2 separate regions of the Homo sapiens genome follow, and region 2 is linked to region 1. Evidence: promoter capture Hi-C in human tissues and cell types (Jung and others, 2019). All regions are on one chromosome and are shown on one strand. The core of a region is centred on a gene start or on the middle of the fragment in contact, and the rest is flanking DNA. Distances in the headings are between cores, read along the strand shown.

What was found. The method cuts DNA at HindIII sites, captures the fragments that hold promoters and counts their contacts. A contact is called where the count stands out against the background at its distance.
Region 2: a contact is called between a fragment that was not itself captured here and the fragment with the promoter of ETV5 in region 1, in 1 of the 25 tissues and cell types used here (stomach).

What each region holds. Positions count from the first base shown.
Region 1 is chr3:186,105,604-186,112,882 of GRCh38, forward strand. It overlaps ETV5 (ETS variant transcription factor 5), which reads right to left and starts at 3,486. Exons shown (of 13, transcript NM_004454.3): 1 at 3,337-3,486; 2 at 221-339; 3 at 22-109. The coding sequence starts at 265. RefSeq lists enhancers at 2,209-2,268, 3,027-4,005 and silencers at 3,039-3,138, 3,169-3,798. The HindIII fragment of the contact is 3,753 bases long and covers 2,156-5,908 here.
Region 2 is chr3:186,978,518-186,985,796 of GRCh38, forward strand. The region is part of intron 2 of ST6GAL1 (ST6 beta-galactoside alpha-2,6-sialyltransferase 1); the gene reads left to right. LOC124906314 (a long non-coding RNA gene) reads right to left here. Exons shown (of 3, transcript XR_007096208.1): 3 at 4,780-7,279. Among named protein-coding and RNA genes, the nearest start is that of ST6GAL1, 52 kb to the left of the region's middle. The HindIII fragment of the contact is 3,597 bases long and covers 1,401-4,997 here.

The sequences.
Region 1 (7,279 bases), core at 2,236-4,735:
AATCAGGGAAAGCTTTACTACCTTCAGAATCGTGAGCCAGATCTGTGTCCAAAAACTTCCTCTTTCTGTCAATCACAGGCCGCCCTCTGCATTCCTCAGATCGAGATTTCTGAAAGAGGCCAACAGAAAGTGAAGGCTCAAGTGTAGTAAAGAGGTCCACAGGGGGAAGACTCATATTGGAGAGGGAGGACAAAACAAACCAAAAGCCACATAAACTTACCCCTGGGACCATAAAAGGGACTTGCTGATCATAAAACCCGTCCATGGTGCTTTCAGCGTCTCTAATACCACTTTGAGAGGTTTCAGCATTGAGTAATTTCTGGGGGAAAAGGGATCCTCCTGTAATATGAATTTGGGAGATTTTAACTAAGAGGGGGGAAAAAAAGAAATGAAACAATTTTAGACTGCCTTTTTTTTAGGGCCTGTGCAAAATTATTACCCTTCTGTGAAGTACTTAAAACCTACTCAAGGTGCAAGCTTTACACACCAATGCCGGGCTTGATTAATGGTATCAGAGGTACAGGATGTACTCCGTGCCAAATCCATTTACCCAGTCATCATTTTTTCTTTCTTATTTAAATCATTAAAATTACAGATTTGCTACTGTCTGTTCTCTACCAAAACAAAAATAAATAAATAAAATAAAATAAAAGGGTGATTTCAAGATTCTCTCATATACTCCAGGGCATTTGTAGTAGGGTTTTTAAAAAAGAGATAATTTAATTTTTGACAGTACAGTGTCAGGAAGCAGAGAAACTGGGTTTAAGTATTCCAAATTATTGGCAATTAAAGATCTGACATACATGGTGTTTCCAAAAGCATTTTGTAGGTCACTGTTAAAACACTATATATAGTTCCTGGAATAAATTGATCAGAGGTATACTTATCTTCACACACAACTCTTTATTTAAAAGAGGACTAAACAGATATAGCATCTGTAATGTCACAAATATCTCCCTGGTTACTTACAGAGATATTTGTGACATCTCCAACTTCTAAAAGAGTAAAATGTCTATGAAAAGTAATGGATTAAAAAAACTAATTCCATTGCATGTGGTACAATGCATCTCTACCAAAGGTCTTTTAAAACTTAGGCTGTTTCATATAGCGGAATCATTTTTTTCTAGACATACCCCCCCACCCCCAAATGAAACTCATTTCAGGACGGGTAAGTGTGTGAGTCTGGGGAAAAAGGGTGGGGTTAGAAGGGAGAAAACTTCTCCTAACGTGAGTGGAATAAAGTAACAATTTCAGGGAGGTACCATCTTCCTAAACACTTTTATTCTTCAAATAAAAACACCGTTAAGTCAACAAAAGGTGGAAAAACATTAATTTCACTCACTCCAGCTCTAAGCAATTCAAAATGCTTAAAGGTCAACTTCTTTTGTTTGACATATACACAATTTTAAACAGGAAACTTTTCCCCCGGTGAGCAATTCCATCCAATTTGTTTTTCACACTGTGTGTAGCATATCAAATTTTTCATAAGTGGGCAGGATACAAGGACACCCTTCACAGCCAGCATCCTCCGCAGCACTTTGGCCCAAGGAATCAGATATTTTCAAAGTCAAAGGAAAGAGAGGAGCAAAATAGCACACAGTTCATAACTTCCTAGAAAAACACTCGCGCCAGCCTGCCTGCGTGCCCCGTCCAAACACCACAAGAAATGTTCAGAATAACGCCTCTCTCAAATGCCACCAAACCGTATACAAAATCTGAGAAACCTCAGCAGTGAGTTGAGGGGCATGAAAGAGAGAGTGCTCTGTCGCTTAGGAAAATCTGTCAGATTAAATCATGGCCTAAGACATTTTGTGAATGTGTTAGGAGGAAGGGGACAACCAGTAGAAGACGGGAGGGGGAGATATTTTTCAGTCTCATGATGAAATACTTCACCCGGAAGAGCAAAAAAAATTCTAAAAAATTAAAAGAAATAAACTGCCATAAACGAACGGAAAAGAGGCATTCCAGGGTTAGAAAAATTGTATTCCAAGTATAATTTTTTTAAAAGCCTGAAGGAAAGGCTCGAGTTCATCCAGGAGTTTAAACCACTTCCTTTGCCCCCCCACCACCCGCGCCCCGGGCGCCCCCAGGAAAACTTTAGCACAGCGCAGCGGCGCGATCCAGGCCCCTCCCCTGTGGCGCGCAGCGGGCCCGGTTTTATGAATGGGAGAGCGAGCCGCGGCCGCCACATCAGGTAGAGGCTGTAACTGGATCTCTAGCGCTGGGCCCCATTCACAAAACAAGACACACTTCCACCCAATTCTCAGCCTTCCCCATTCATGAAAACTCCTTCAGCTGCGCCCCCGCCCCCATTTCCAACGCACGCCCAGCCTCCGACGCAGGCCCCTCACCCCAGCGTTTTAGGAAGAAAGCTCAATGCTTCATTCACAAAAAGGGAAGAAAAAAAAAAAAGCCGCAGGGAGCAGCGAGCCAACGAAAGAAACCCGCTTCATTCATAAAGTCACCCACATTCATAAAAACGAGGTGCGGCGCCCGGCGCTACCAACCGCTTCCAATCCCCCCACCCCCAACATCTCTCCCTGGCACCCCCTCGTCGACCAGGAGTTCGGTTCCCCCCCGAGTTTTCTCCACCCTCTGAAAATGCGGCCGGAACCCTAATCCGCTGCGAGGCTGCAGCATCTTTCGGTGCTGTCCCCTCCACACCCGTGTTATCCCCACCATCCCCAGGCCGCTGTTCCGGTGCGCCCCGATTTTCTCGAGTCGCCGCACAGCCGGACGCCCTCAGCCTGCTGGGTGGGAGCAGGGCGACTGGATGTCCACTTTCCACCACCTGAAACTTGCAAGGCCTGCGTAAGTTCCTGGTCGACCCCCGCCCCCGCAGGCTGCACTTGCCTGTGTCATTTACCCCCTCCCGGTGCTCTGGGGGGCAGCGCCTCTCAGACATTCCCCTCAAACTGCTTCCCGCCCCCTCCTCCCAACTGCGGAGCTCCGCCAAGCGTCTCTTCTCGCGAGCCTCCAAGTCCCCTCGGGGCTCTCGAATCTCCAGAGACTGTGAAAGCCTCGCAACTCCGCGATCCCCCATCCACTCGGGAGCCCCCGCACTCGCGCTCCGGGGCGCCTCCCCCACGACGTGTGGAAAGCCGCTCTCCCCGCGCTCCGGAACCGTTAGCCGCACCCGCCCGACGCCTCCCAGGAACCAAACCGGACCGGGCCGCGGGGGGAGGGGGCGGTCAACCCGGGGGGGGTCACCCCAGCTACTGCACCCCGACTTTGAAGATTCTGAATCAGCCCGTGAACTCTAGCCGGCTGGGCCTGTCGGACCAGTGGCCGGACGCCCCTTCCGATCTCCCCCCTGCCCCCGCAAAGCCCCCTCACCTGAGGCGGCCTCTCTCCTCCCCTTGCAGCGGCCCCGGCGGCGCAGGCGCGCTCACGCACGCGCGCAGCGGGCCTGGGCGCCTGGGCGAAAGGCTGGGCCGAACCGCTCCGAAGACGGTGAACCGCTCCGCGCACCAGCGGCTGGACTCTGCGCCGCAGCTGCCAACCAGGCTGGAGCGCTGGCCCGGCCCCCCGCGGCTCGCTGCTCCGCCCGCCGCCATTGGCCCGCGGCCCTAGCCCAGCCTTGTTCCCATTGGCCAGAGGCCGTTCCCGCGGCTGTCCATCACCTCTTGTTTACCCTGTCTGCGGGCAAATCCAACCAAGCCGCCCCATCAACTCCGGCCCCCATTGGCCAGCGGTGCATCTCTCTCCACCCCCTCAGGGGTCTGTTTTACATAATTTATGCACCGGGGGCCATTGGCCAATCAGCACAGGCTTGTTTATATAATGAATGTAAGGACGTTTTTCATTCATAAAAAACGCGACCTGAGGGGGAAGCTTAGCTGAGTCAGTGAAGCACTTAAAGGGGCCGAGGCCAGGAGGAGCCGCCGTTACTTCCCTTCTCGCCGCTCTCCCGACTTTTCACCGAGGCACGACTCTTCCCCCTTACCCACTCACCCCCACTTCTCCATCCAGCAAAGCCCCGACCAGAATTGGGTCTCTTGGCGCCAGACGTTCGCAGCTGCAGCACCAAGCAAAGTTATCATTTTAGAATTCAGGGGAGAGGAATTCGTCATTCCACACAAACTCGCTGACCGACCTGGGCGTTTAGCCCACAGAAACACAGAAAACGGAAACCGAGCCCTCTAATCTTAGTTACCTTTAAGAGAGGCCTTAATTTCTTTTAACCAGGTTTCCAGTGGGAAGAATAAGCAGCATCTCCTTTTAAAATCTCAGCTCTCAAACAGATTTTTGTTACTATTTTGTACTGGCAAGGCCTAAGACCCAACCAAATCCCGTTTTCTCTTTAACTGCGGCTCGTAACCTCCGCCAGAGTGGGTTCTGTAGTCGAGGTGAGACAGGGTTCGGGCTCAAAGAAATCCTCTCCGGGGACAGCAGCAGCCAGTCCACCGACCTGGAAACCTAAATCCCTCCGAAACGGGCATGCAGACTCAGACTTTTTGCCTCCCTCCCCGGGCTGCTTGTTTTCCATTTAAGTATTGAATGCAAGATGGTGTATTTGCGAATTAGATCCCGTGCAGCTGGGAACGACGAGAAGCGGCTCTGCTTGCCAAACGATAGGGCACTAACTGCAATTGCTGAGATTCTTAACAGGGTGTTCCAGGAAACAAATAAACAAACAATCCTCTCCCCTCTCCGCCCCCTTACCCCCTCCTGTGAAGGCCGTGGGGCGGCTCTATCTTCTCTCCGGGGATGCTGGGGGCCTGTGACGGAGCTCTGTTCTCGTCCTGCTGGAGTGCCCTGCCATTCACGCCGCGTGCCAGCGGTGGGGAGGAAAGATGCTAAGTGACAGGAGAGAGCCCCTAGCAATGGGGGTCCCACGGTGGCCAACTCTGGGGCAGTTCCTGCCCCTGCCACCCCCACACTTAAGTCAAAGGTTCTTTCCTATCTCCACTTGTGTCTCTTAAACAGAGCGGACACTTGGTCTGTCGTTTATAGCCCTTGAAATGTTGGCGTGCCCCTAAGCAACCTGCAGCACCCGTGTTGAGTCCTGGGCTCAGCACTGACCAGGCACGCTGGAGCTGTTGACTTTGGAAGACTGAAATGGGCATGAGTTGATGGATGGAAAGTACTCTGAACATGTAACAAGCAGTTCCTTGAGATCTAGTTTCCTGGTAGAACATTTTGCTTCCGACTCCAGTTTTCCCTTAGTGCCCTTTTTCTTTCTCCAGGTGGTACCGTTTCTGTTTGGTGGCTGGAGATCTTACACTAGTACAGTTGTGCTCTGAGCTTATTGCTGACATTCCTGAGAGCTCTATCTCCCTAGCTAGATGAAGGGCCCAGGTAAGCTCCCAGATCCTCCTCCTCCCCAATTTTGTCTACCCCCACTCCCGCTCCTCCCCATCCCATCCCATGACATCCTGCTCTCTAAACTCATTTTTCCAAAGGAGCTTTCTTACTCCTCTTCCCTTAAGTCTCTCAGGCCCCAGCCCTCCGGAAGGCTTACAGCCCACAGAGCCACATATCCTCACCATCTAAACCGTAACACATCAATCACACTTTATAACTTTGGCTACAGGAAAACAGTGCCGCACGCTTCACAGCAACTTCCTCACAGGGTTGGACCTGATGCCTGGAGTTTGGCTCTTGTGACCTTTGCCTCAAGCCAAGTCTCTCCATTCCACTTTGAAAAGAGAAGTAGGATAGTTCTGGGTTGAGTAGTAACAAATAGTGGCTCAGGTGGGGGCAGGGGAGGATTGGGCGATAGATTTTTTTTCAAAAATGCTTGTCTTGAACACGCGATCATGTGCAGGGGATTACACCAGAATAATTGCCAATTAATTATTGCGATTATTTAGTTATCCAGTAAACATGTATTTTGTACCAAATATTCAGCCAGACTTCGTGCTAGGCAAAAAAGTTGCAGAGATGAATAAGACCCAGTCTTTGCGTTGGAGGAGCCCACAGTCTGCTGTGTAACTTCAGTATCTGAAGTTTACTCAGCACTTTATATATGACTTGTTCATGCCATATATAATTCTTCACAGATTATCTCATTTAATCCTCATAATAATAGTACCAAAGTGGTCAGGCTATTAATGTCTCCATTCTATAATATATAGTTGAGAAACTGAGACACAGAGATTAAGTAGTTTGCCAATGGTCACAGAGCTTGAAAGTCAGTTGCTGAACTTGGATAGGAGCCAAGGTGGTCACATCCCAGAGCCCATATATGGGAGACCTAGCATCTGCCTCTCTTGTTCAGCGACTACCGGGAAACATCATTTCAACCCAGAGTGGTAAAGGACAGAGCTGGCCAAAGTCAAAGGAGGCAGATTTTAGCTCCAAATAGGGTTAGGAAGGACTCTGGGATGTTTGGAGTGGTCCAGCAAAGGAAGATTGTATCTGGCCCTGAGTCTTCCATCACAGGAGGCATTTATGCAGAAAGATTTAGGGATAGGGTAGAGGGACTAATGCATTTTCCAGGATAGAAGAACTCTGAGGATTGTTCCATCTCTCAGAGTCTCTGATTCTGGGAATTTGGAGGTTTGTGCTGGACAAGGGGTACAGCTCTTGGCACAGCCATCTTGGCTGCAGCATTAAAAGTCAGAGTACAGCCTGCGATGACCTGAGCCAGCTCCTGGGCCCAGGGTGGGCTCCTCATTTTTAAATATTTACTGATATCTTCTCTCCACTCTTCTTCCTTCTTCTCTTTATGATTTACCTCCCCGGCTCCTCTTCTTTTGTTATCTTTGCCTTTATAAGAGTTAAAGGTAGTATTTAGAAGTTCTTTGTCTATTACGTTGAGGCTTCCCTCCTAGGAACATTACTTACATGGGAGGTTTTGTCGAACAAGCATGTGTTCTAATTATCATTCCCTCTCCTCCAGGAGAGAAACAGGATTGGAAAAGAAAACAAAAAGAGAGACCAGTCCTCTGGCACATTCATCTAATGTCAATCTAGCCTTTGTCCTCTGGCAGTAGCAAAACTCAATCACAGCACGATAACTAGACCCTTGTTCTTTAAACTCAATTTGCAGTGTGTCTAGAGGGGAACAGTGTAGAAGAATAGAAAAGAAAGTACCTTGCCCCAAGCCTGAGAACTGTTACCCTTTAGAGAACTGCTTTTAGAATTTTCCCCTAAAATGCCAAAAGCAAGTTACCGTATAAGGCAGGCAACCCTGTCTTGAGCTGATCACCAAAATGATCGTGGGAAATATGGAAGCATCATGATCCTGGTTTCTCATACTGGGAAAATCCCTCCTCTTTCTCTGTTAGAAATGCCGGGGTGAGTGTAGACCTGCCTAGGGTTTGGGATGTGG
Region 2 (7,279 bases), core at 1,949-4,448, 870 kb after region 1:
GTGGATGGTGGGGCTGCAGGCCAGACCAGGAGCCAGAAAAGATGGTCTCTGGCACCCTTTCCTTTATTCACGGAAATGGCCCCTCTTCACCTCTTCGTGCTCCATCAAAGCTCCTTTTTAGTGCTGGGAGCACACCACGGAGTTTAGAGAAAACAATCTAATAATGTTATTTGCTTGCTTAGAAAACCTCCACCAGTCCCAGTTGCTTGCAGGATAAATTGGGACTAGAAATACCTCTGTCTGGAGCAGATGTCCTGTCGAAGACCATTTCTCATCACTGCAGCCCTTATACCCTGTCCCACCTCACAGCTTCTCCCCATCCCTGAACACAATGGGCCACTTTCATGACTGAGCCTTTGCACTGCTATTCTCTGTTGGGCATGCCTTGCTCTGCTTGGTGAACTCCTGTTCAAACTTCAAAACCCAGGATGAACTTTACCTTTTCTGACTTCTGACTTCCTCTAGTAGAGTTGGCACCACCTCCTCGGCCCTTAGTTTTTAATGCTTTACATGATTTTCCACCCACTAGTTTATGGTCTTTTCTCTAAGACCTCAGCAGCAGGAGCTGGGCCCTATTTATTTCTGTATCATCTGTATTTGGGGCATATTTGTGTGAACAAATGAATGAGGGCTCATTGTAAAACAAACTGTATATAAAGTGTGAGTCACAGGTGGCCCCACTTTAACTGAAATGTTAGGTTAGGTTGGGGGAATTCAGAGAAAGGAGAGGTGATACCCTGAGGCCTAGCGTTATTGATTAGTTGACCAGTGAGCTATGCACTCTGCCTGGAGCATTACTGCAAATGAGCCTAGGACCTATTGAGAGAAGGTCCCAGGGGTGAAGTAACAGTGGGAGGCCTTACAGTTGGGAAGTGAAGCTTAGGTCTTCCCTGTTCTCCAGGCCAGACTCAAACTCTGTGCCTGATCTGCTTCCCAAGAGAGGAACTCCTTGGGCAGACCTGGAGAAAAAGTGGGGATTTTGGATGGTCCCCAAAGGAGGGTAGGGGTAGAAGAGGAGTCGAAACAGAGACAGGAGGAAGTCCAAGACAAACTTTCCTTCCTTAATACATAGTGCTCGGGGGCATCCTTCTGGCTGTAGCATCTGCGTAATAGCTGCTCCTAAGAATGCAACGTGAGCTGAATTCAAACATGAATTTGGAGCCAGTACCTGAATATGTGGGTTGTTCTATGCCACCGGGCCCCCTGCCTGTTTAATTTCTCCTTCCCCTGCTGCCAAGGCTTCCGAGAAGTTGCTGTGTAGGTGCTTAATGCTTCGGAGATGGTCAGGTATGAGTTTAAATCCTGGTCTCGGGCACTTTAATTGCTAATTGTGTAGCACTGAGCAAAAATAATAGGGATGCAGCTTTTATAGCACCAATCAGGTCAGTGATGTTGGTGATACTGTTGAGAGCTTACTATGTGCCAGGCATTATGCTAAGTGGTTGATGACCATTATCTCATTTATTCCTCCGTATACCCTACAGGCAGATGCTGTCATCATTCTGAAATTCCAGATACGTAACTGAGGTTCAGAGAGGTTAAGTAAGTTGCCTGAAGCCATAAAACAAACGATGATGGAATCAGATCATGGATCCTGATATGTCACACCTTAACCATTGTGCCATTGGTCTACAATTTGCCTGATCCTAAGAATCACCTGAGACTCTTGTTAAAAGAGCAATTCCCAGGCCCTGTCTCAGATTCAGATTCAGCCCAGCTGGGGTGGAGCCTGGGGAGCAGTGGATGCAGCGGGCACCCTGGATGATACTAGGATCTGGCAAGTTTAAGAAACGCTATATTGTGCCTTCCTGCCTGTAAGTTGTGGCTCATGGTTGGCCCTCAAGAAATGTTAGCTGTTAGTATTATAATATAAATGAATTGAAAGGACAGCTTATTGTGAAAGAATATACGTCTTTAAAAAGCTTATTAGTCCTGACACTAGATTTTAAAGATAGAGGTCGGATGGGCGCGGTGGCTCACGCCTGTAATCCCAGGACTTTTGGAAGCCAAGGCAGGTGGATCACGAGATCAAGAGATCGAGACCATCCTGGCCAACATGGTGAAACCCATTCTCTACTAAAATTACAAAAAAAAAAAAAAAAAAAAAATTAGCCAGGCAAGGTGGCAAGTGCCTGTAGTCCCAGCTATTAGGGAGGCTGAGGCAGGAAAATCACTTGAACCTGGGAGGTGGAGGTTGCAGTGAGGATCACCCCACTGCACACCAGCCTGGGTGACAGAGACTCCATCTCAAAAAAAAAAAAAAAAAGATAGAAGTCAAGGGGAAATAGATTCTGGATCAATGAATCTATACTCTAATACTCTAAACTCAAAACTATCTGCAAGTGGGATGTGTGCCTTTATAGGTCCCTGTCACTAGTGGTCAAGCAATCAGTGCCATCACGTGTTGGGTGTGATGGCTGAGCTGTTCTTCAGGGACCCATTCCTCAGTCAGTGTCTGCTGTATACATGCAGCTGCAGAGGACATTTGTGCACTGAGGAGGGCTTTGGGTGTGTTAATATTCTAGAAGAGGTGGAGTAGAGCAGCTATGCAAAGCAAGGAAGAAGGCAGGAGGTGTTAAAAGAAAAACTTTAGAGAAAATAAATGTAGCAAAGTTCATCTGAGCAAAGAACCATGTGTGAATTGGACAGCACTCAGAACCAGAAGAGGTTCAGAGAGCTCTGCTGCCGCAGTGAGGACAGTGAGCTTTTGTAGGCTGAACGTGGAAAGAAGGCTAAGAAAATATATTTTATTAGAGTGGGAAGACCCTAGTTAGAGGTTAGTTGGTGGTTTCTGATTGGTGAAGCCTCTAGTTACATTTTACTGTTTACATTGATTTGGATTTTGGTTTGCTTATGTAGAAGCTCTGGTTATGGAGACAACCTCAGGCTAACGGCCTCCTTCTTATTTGCTTTAACAGAGGGATGGCAGAGGTAGAAGACAGCAGATATTTGAGGGCCATCACTACTGCCTTGTACCGTGGGTAACCTGCATGAAGTCTTCTCTGTAGCTTCAGAGCATCTAGATCCGCTGTCATGCCACCAATACACTAAGGCACTTCATTTTCCTCAGGGAGACTGATGATGTCTTGTTATCTCTTATTAGCATTCCAAGTCTTATCTTATTTTTGAATTCTCAAGGTCCATTTTTGGGCATATAAATTACTGAAGGCAGTCAGGAAATATTGTTCCATCAGAGCTGGGAGAAAGACTCAACCCTTATCCTGGTCCATTGACCTATTTCCAACCTCAGCTTTGATGACAAAACTCAGCAGAAGCTTTCTTACAGACTAAGAGCACTTTATAAAACACTGCTTAAAGCTGAAGGAAACCCTCTGAATGACCACCCTTGAATACCTCCTTTACTAAGACCCATGATTATCTGGGAGTTAGAATCCATAATAATAGCTGCCACTGTGCACAGTGATTGTGTGCTGGGTGCTTTACATCTATTTTCTCATTTAATTCTCCTAACAACTCTATGATAGCAGTCACGCTATGATACAGGTCACACTGGTATTGTTTCACAAATGAATAAACGGGCCTAGAAAATTCAACTAGATTTCCCTAGGTTAGCAGTGGAGTTGGACTTCAAACCTAGGTCTGTGTAGCTCACAAATGAACACTTATTATGCTTATACCATTTTGCCTCATTAGAATAATAGGAAGTCCTTCCTTTTTTGGTGAGGAAGAAATTTAGAGATTGGTTACCCTGACTGGTGATACAGAGCAAAGCTATGTACAAATTGCATCAAAGGGTGGCAGATCCCTACATTCCCATCTAACATCACATCATTCCTAACCTTTTTCCATGTGGATAAGCATGACCTTAGTCAAGTCATTTCTTAGTAAGATAGATTGTTGGTTGCTCGTGACTCTCAGTGAAGACCCAGTAATGCCAAGAATCATGGCAGACAGTTAGGGGGAATATGTATCTTCAACTATGGGGCAGTATGGCAAAGATATTGAGGGCCAGGAATTTGACTACTTTTGAGGAGCGATGACAACTGAGTACAGGAAGTGAGAGGAAGGGAGCATGTACCGTGTATCATTTAATCAACCTTGAGCTTGAGACCAAAGGGAACATACCCTAAGTTTAACTAGGATGGGTTTATCCAGATATAATGGCATCACATCGTAAATTGAAAAGTGTCTGTGTGTAATTCTCTCTGTCTTATTTCTTCGAGAAGGAGTTTCGCTCTTGTTGCCCAGGCTGCAGTGCAATGGTGTGATCTCGGCTCACTGCAATCTCCGCTACCCGGGTTCAAGTGTTTCTCCTGCTTCAGCCTCCCAAGTAGCTGGGATTACAGTCGCCCGCCACCATGCCCAGCTAATTTTTTTATTTTTAGTAGAGACGGGGTTTCACCATTTTGGCCAGGCTGGTCTTGAACTCCTGACCTCAGGTGATCCAGCCACCTCGTCCTCCCGAAGTGCTGGGATTACAGGCATGAGCCACCGCGCCCAGCCCCAATTCTCTCTTTTTAATAGTAATCTAATTACATTTATTTGGCTGCTTTGTTTTCTGTCTCAGGTACGCTAAGTTTGTCTCTCAAAACTCTTTGTGGGCAGGAATTGTAGTTTATATGGTAGTGATGGTTGTATTTTAATTTCACAGAGTGTCTAGCAGGTAATAATTAGCCAATAAAATGTTTCCATTCATTCACCAAATATTTACTGGATAGTTACCACGGTTTGGGCACTGGACATAAAGGTGCTAGGGATACAGTGATAATTATTACTTGGCAGTTGAAATGCTTACGGTTTTAAGGGAAGACAGACATGTAGGCACATTAAAATGACATTTTAATTTGATTAGAATATAATTGAGATTTAAGTAAAACTTATTGGGAACTCAGATGGGAAATAATGAGAAAACAAAGAGAGGGAGGCAGATTTAAGAAATATTCTGAGAGTAGAAAATAGAAGCTTGCGACCTATTCAGTTGGAATCAACACTGTTTATAGGATTGCTCTAGGGGCAGTGAGGCACTGGCGTGGACAGTGATCCAGGGGCACTCAGGGTGAGGGATGAGTTGAATATGAGGTGAGAAAAAAGGGAAGTTGAAGATACCAAGCTTAGCAAGGTAGTAAGAGGTGGAGAGAGGAAGGGAGGGGATTATAATGGTTATTATATAGGGAGTGCTTATTACTATGTGCAAGGTAATTAACACGAATTGCCTCATTTTTTCCTCATAATAAAAGAAGTAGGCACTTTTGGGGATACAGACACTGAGAGCAGTTGAGTAGCCTGTCCAAGATCAGACCTTTGAGGAGTGGAGGAGTTAGGTTTACGCCCAGGAATCCTTGCTCCAGAGTAAACAGTCATGCAGCTGGGTGGAGAAAAATTCCACTAGCTGATCAAGAACATCCGAAAAGCTCTCATGCTGATAACTCCCAAATATGGATCTCCAGCTCACACCTTCTCCCTGACCTCTAGACTTTCCTATCAGGCTTCCTACTTTACGCTCTGTTTGACAGTCTCATCTCAAACTCAGAATATCCAAAGCTGAACTCCAGATTTCCTCTGCCCCCAGGTCTGCTCTTCCTTTGTCTCCTCTTTTTCCATTAAAGTAGCACCATCCGTCTAGTTGCTTGGGCTCCAACCCTTGGAATCATCCTTGACTCTTCTCTCTCTCACACTCACATCTAAAATATCGGGCATGATTTTCAAAGCACGTCTAAAATATACCCACTTCTCTGCCTCCACTGCAACCAGCTGGTCTAAGCCATGAGCATCGCTCACTGGGACTGCTGCTGTCTCCTTACTACTATCCCTGCCCCCTATTCCTGTTCCCACATGGCAGCCTGAGCAATTCTGGCATATTAAGTCAGATCTGGTTGTTCCTCTGCTCAGCCTCCTGCAGCAGCTCCTATTTTATTTGCTAAAAGCCAGAGTTCTTGCCAAGACCTCAAAGGCCCTGCCCAGACTCCTCCACCTCCCCGACATCGTTGTTTGTTCCTCCCGGACCCCGTCTCCATGTACCCTCTTCCTTGATCCTTTCCTTCCAACCAGTGCACACCAGTGCACTCCTGCCTTGAGCCTTGCCGCAAACACGCTTCCCCAGATATTGTGGGACTCATTCCTCCACTATCTGCAACTCTTTGTTCAAATGTCCCCTTCTCAGTGAGTTCTCCTCTGACTGCCCTTTGGAAAATGGAAACCTACCTCAACCCAGTACTTCCGATCTCCCCTTTCTTTCCTTCCCTTCCTCCCTTCCTTCCTTCCTTCCCTCCCTCCCTCCCTCCCTCCCTCCTTCCTTCCTTCCCTTCCTCCCTTCCTTCCTTCCTTCCATCCTTCCTTCCTTCCTTCCTTCCCTCCCTCCCTCCCTCCCTCCTTCCTTCCTTCCTTCCTTCCGTCCTTCCTTCCGTCCTTTCTTTCTCTCTTTCTCTGTCTCTCTCTTTTCTTTCTTTCTGAGATAGGGTCTCGCTCTGTCACCCAGGCTGAAGTGCAGTGGCACGTTCTCGGCTCACTGCAACCTCCACCTCCTGGATTCAAGTGATTCTCCTGCCTCAGCCTCCTGAGCAGCTGGGATTACAGGTGCCCACCATGACACATGGCTAATTTTTGTATTTTTAGTAGAGATAGGGTTTCACCTTGTTGGTCAGGCTGGTCTCGAACTCCTGACCTCAAGTGATCCGCCCACCTCAGCCTCCCAAAGTGTTGGGATTGCAGACGTGAGCCACTGAGCCTGGCCCTATCCCCCCTTTCTTGTACTCTACTTTGTTCTCTAAGCACTTAGCATCTTTTAAGATACCAAATAATTTTTTTAATTTGTTATATTTACGGCTCTTAGTGTCTCCCTCTGCTAGTATGTAAAACTCTAAGGGTGTTGATCTTCATCTGGGTTATTCACTGTAGTATCCTATGCACTAAGAATTATACTTAGCACTTAGCAAATGTTTAATACATTTTTTTTTAAAGTGAGTAAGCGTAGAATATAAAGCTTTTGTGCAGGTCTCTAAAAGTTTTTGAAAGGATATGATCTGAGGCTAGGCACTCCCAGCACTTTGGGAAGTCAAGGTGGGTGCATCTTGAGCTCAGAAGTTCGAGATTAGCCTGGGAAACATGGCGAAACCCCGTCTCTTCAAAAAGTAAAAAAAAAAAAAAAAAATTAGCTGGTCCTGGTGGAGCATGCCTATAGTCCCAGCTACTCAGGAAGCTGAGGAGGGACGATTGCTTGAGCCTCAGAGGTGGACGTTGCAGTGAGCCGAGATTGCGCCACTGCGCTCCAGCCTGGGTGGCAGAGTGAGACCCTGTCTCAAAAAAAAAAAAAGAAAAAAGA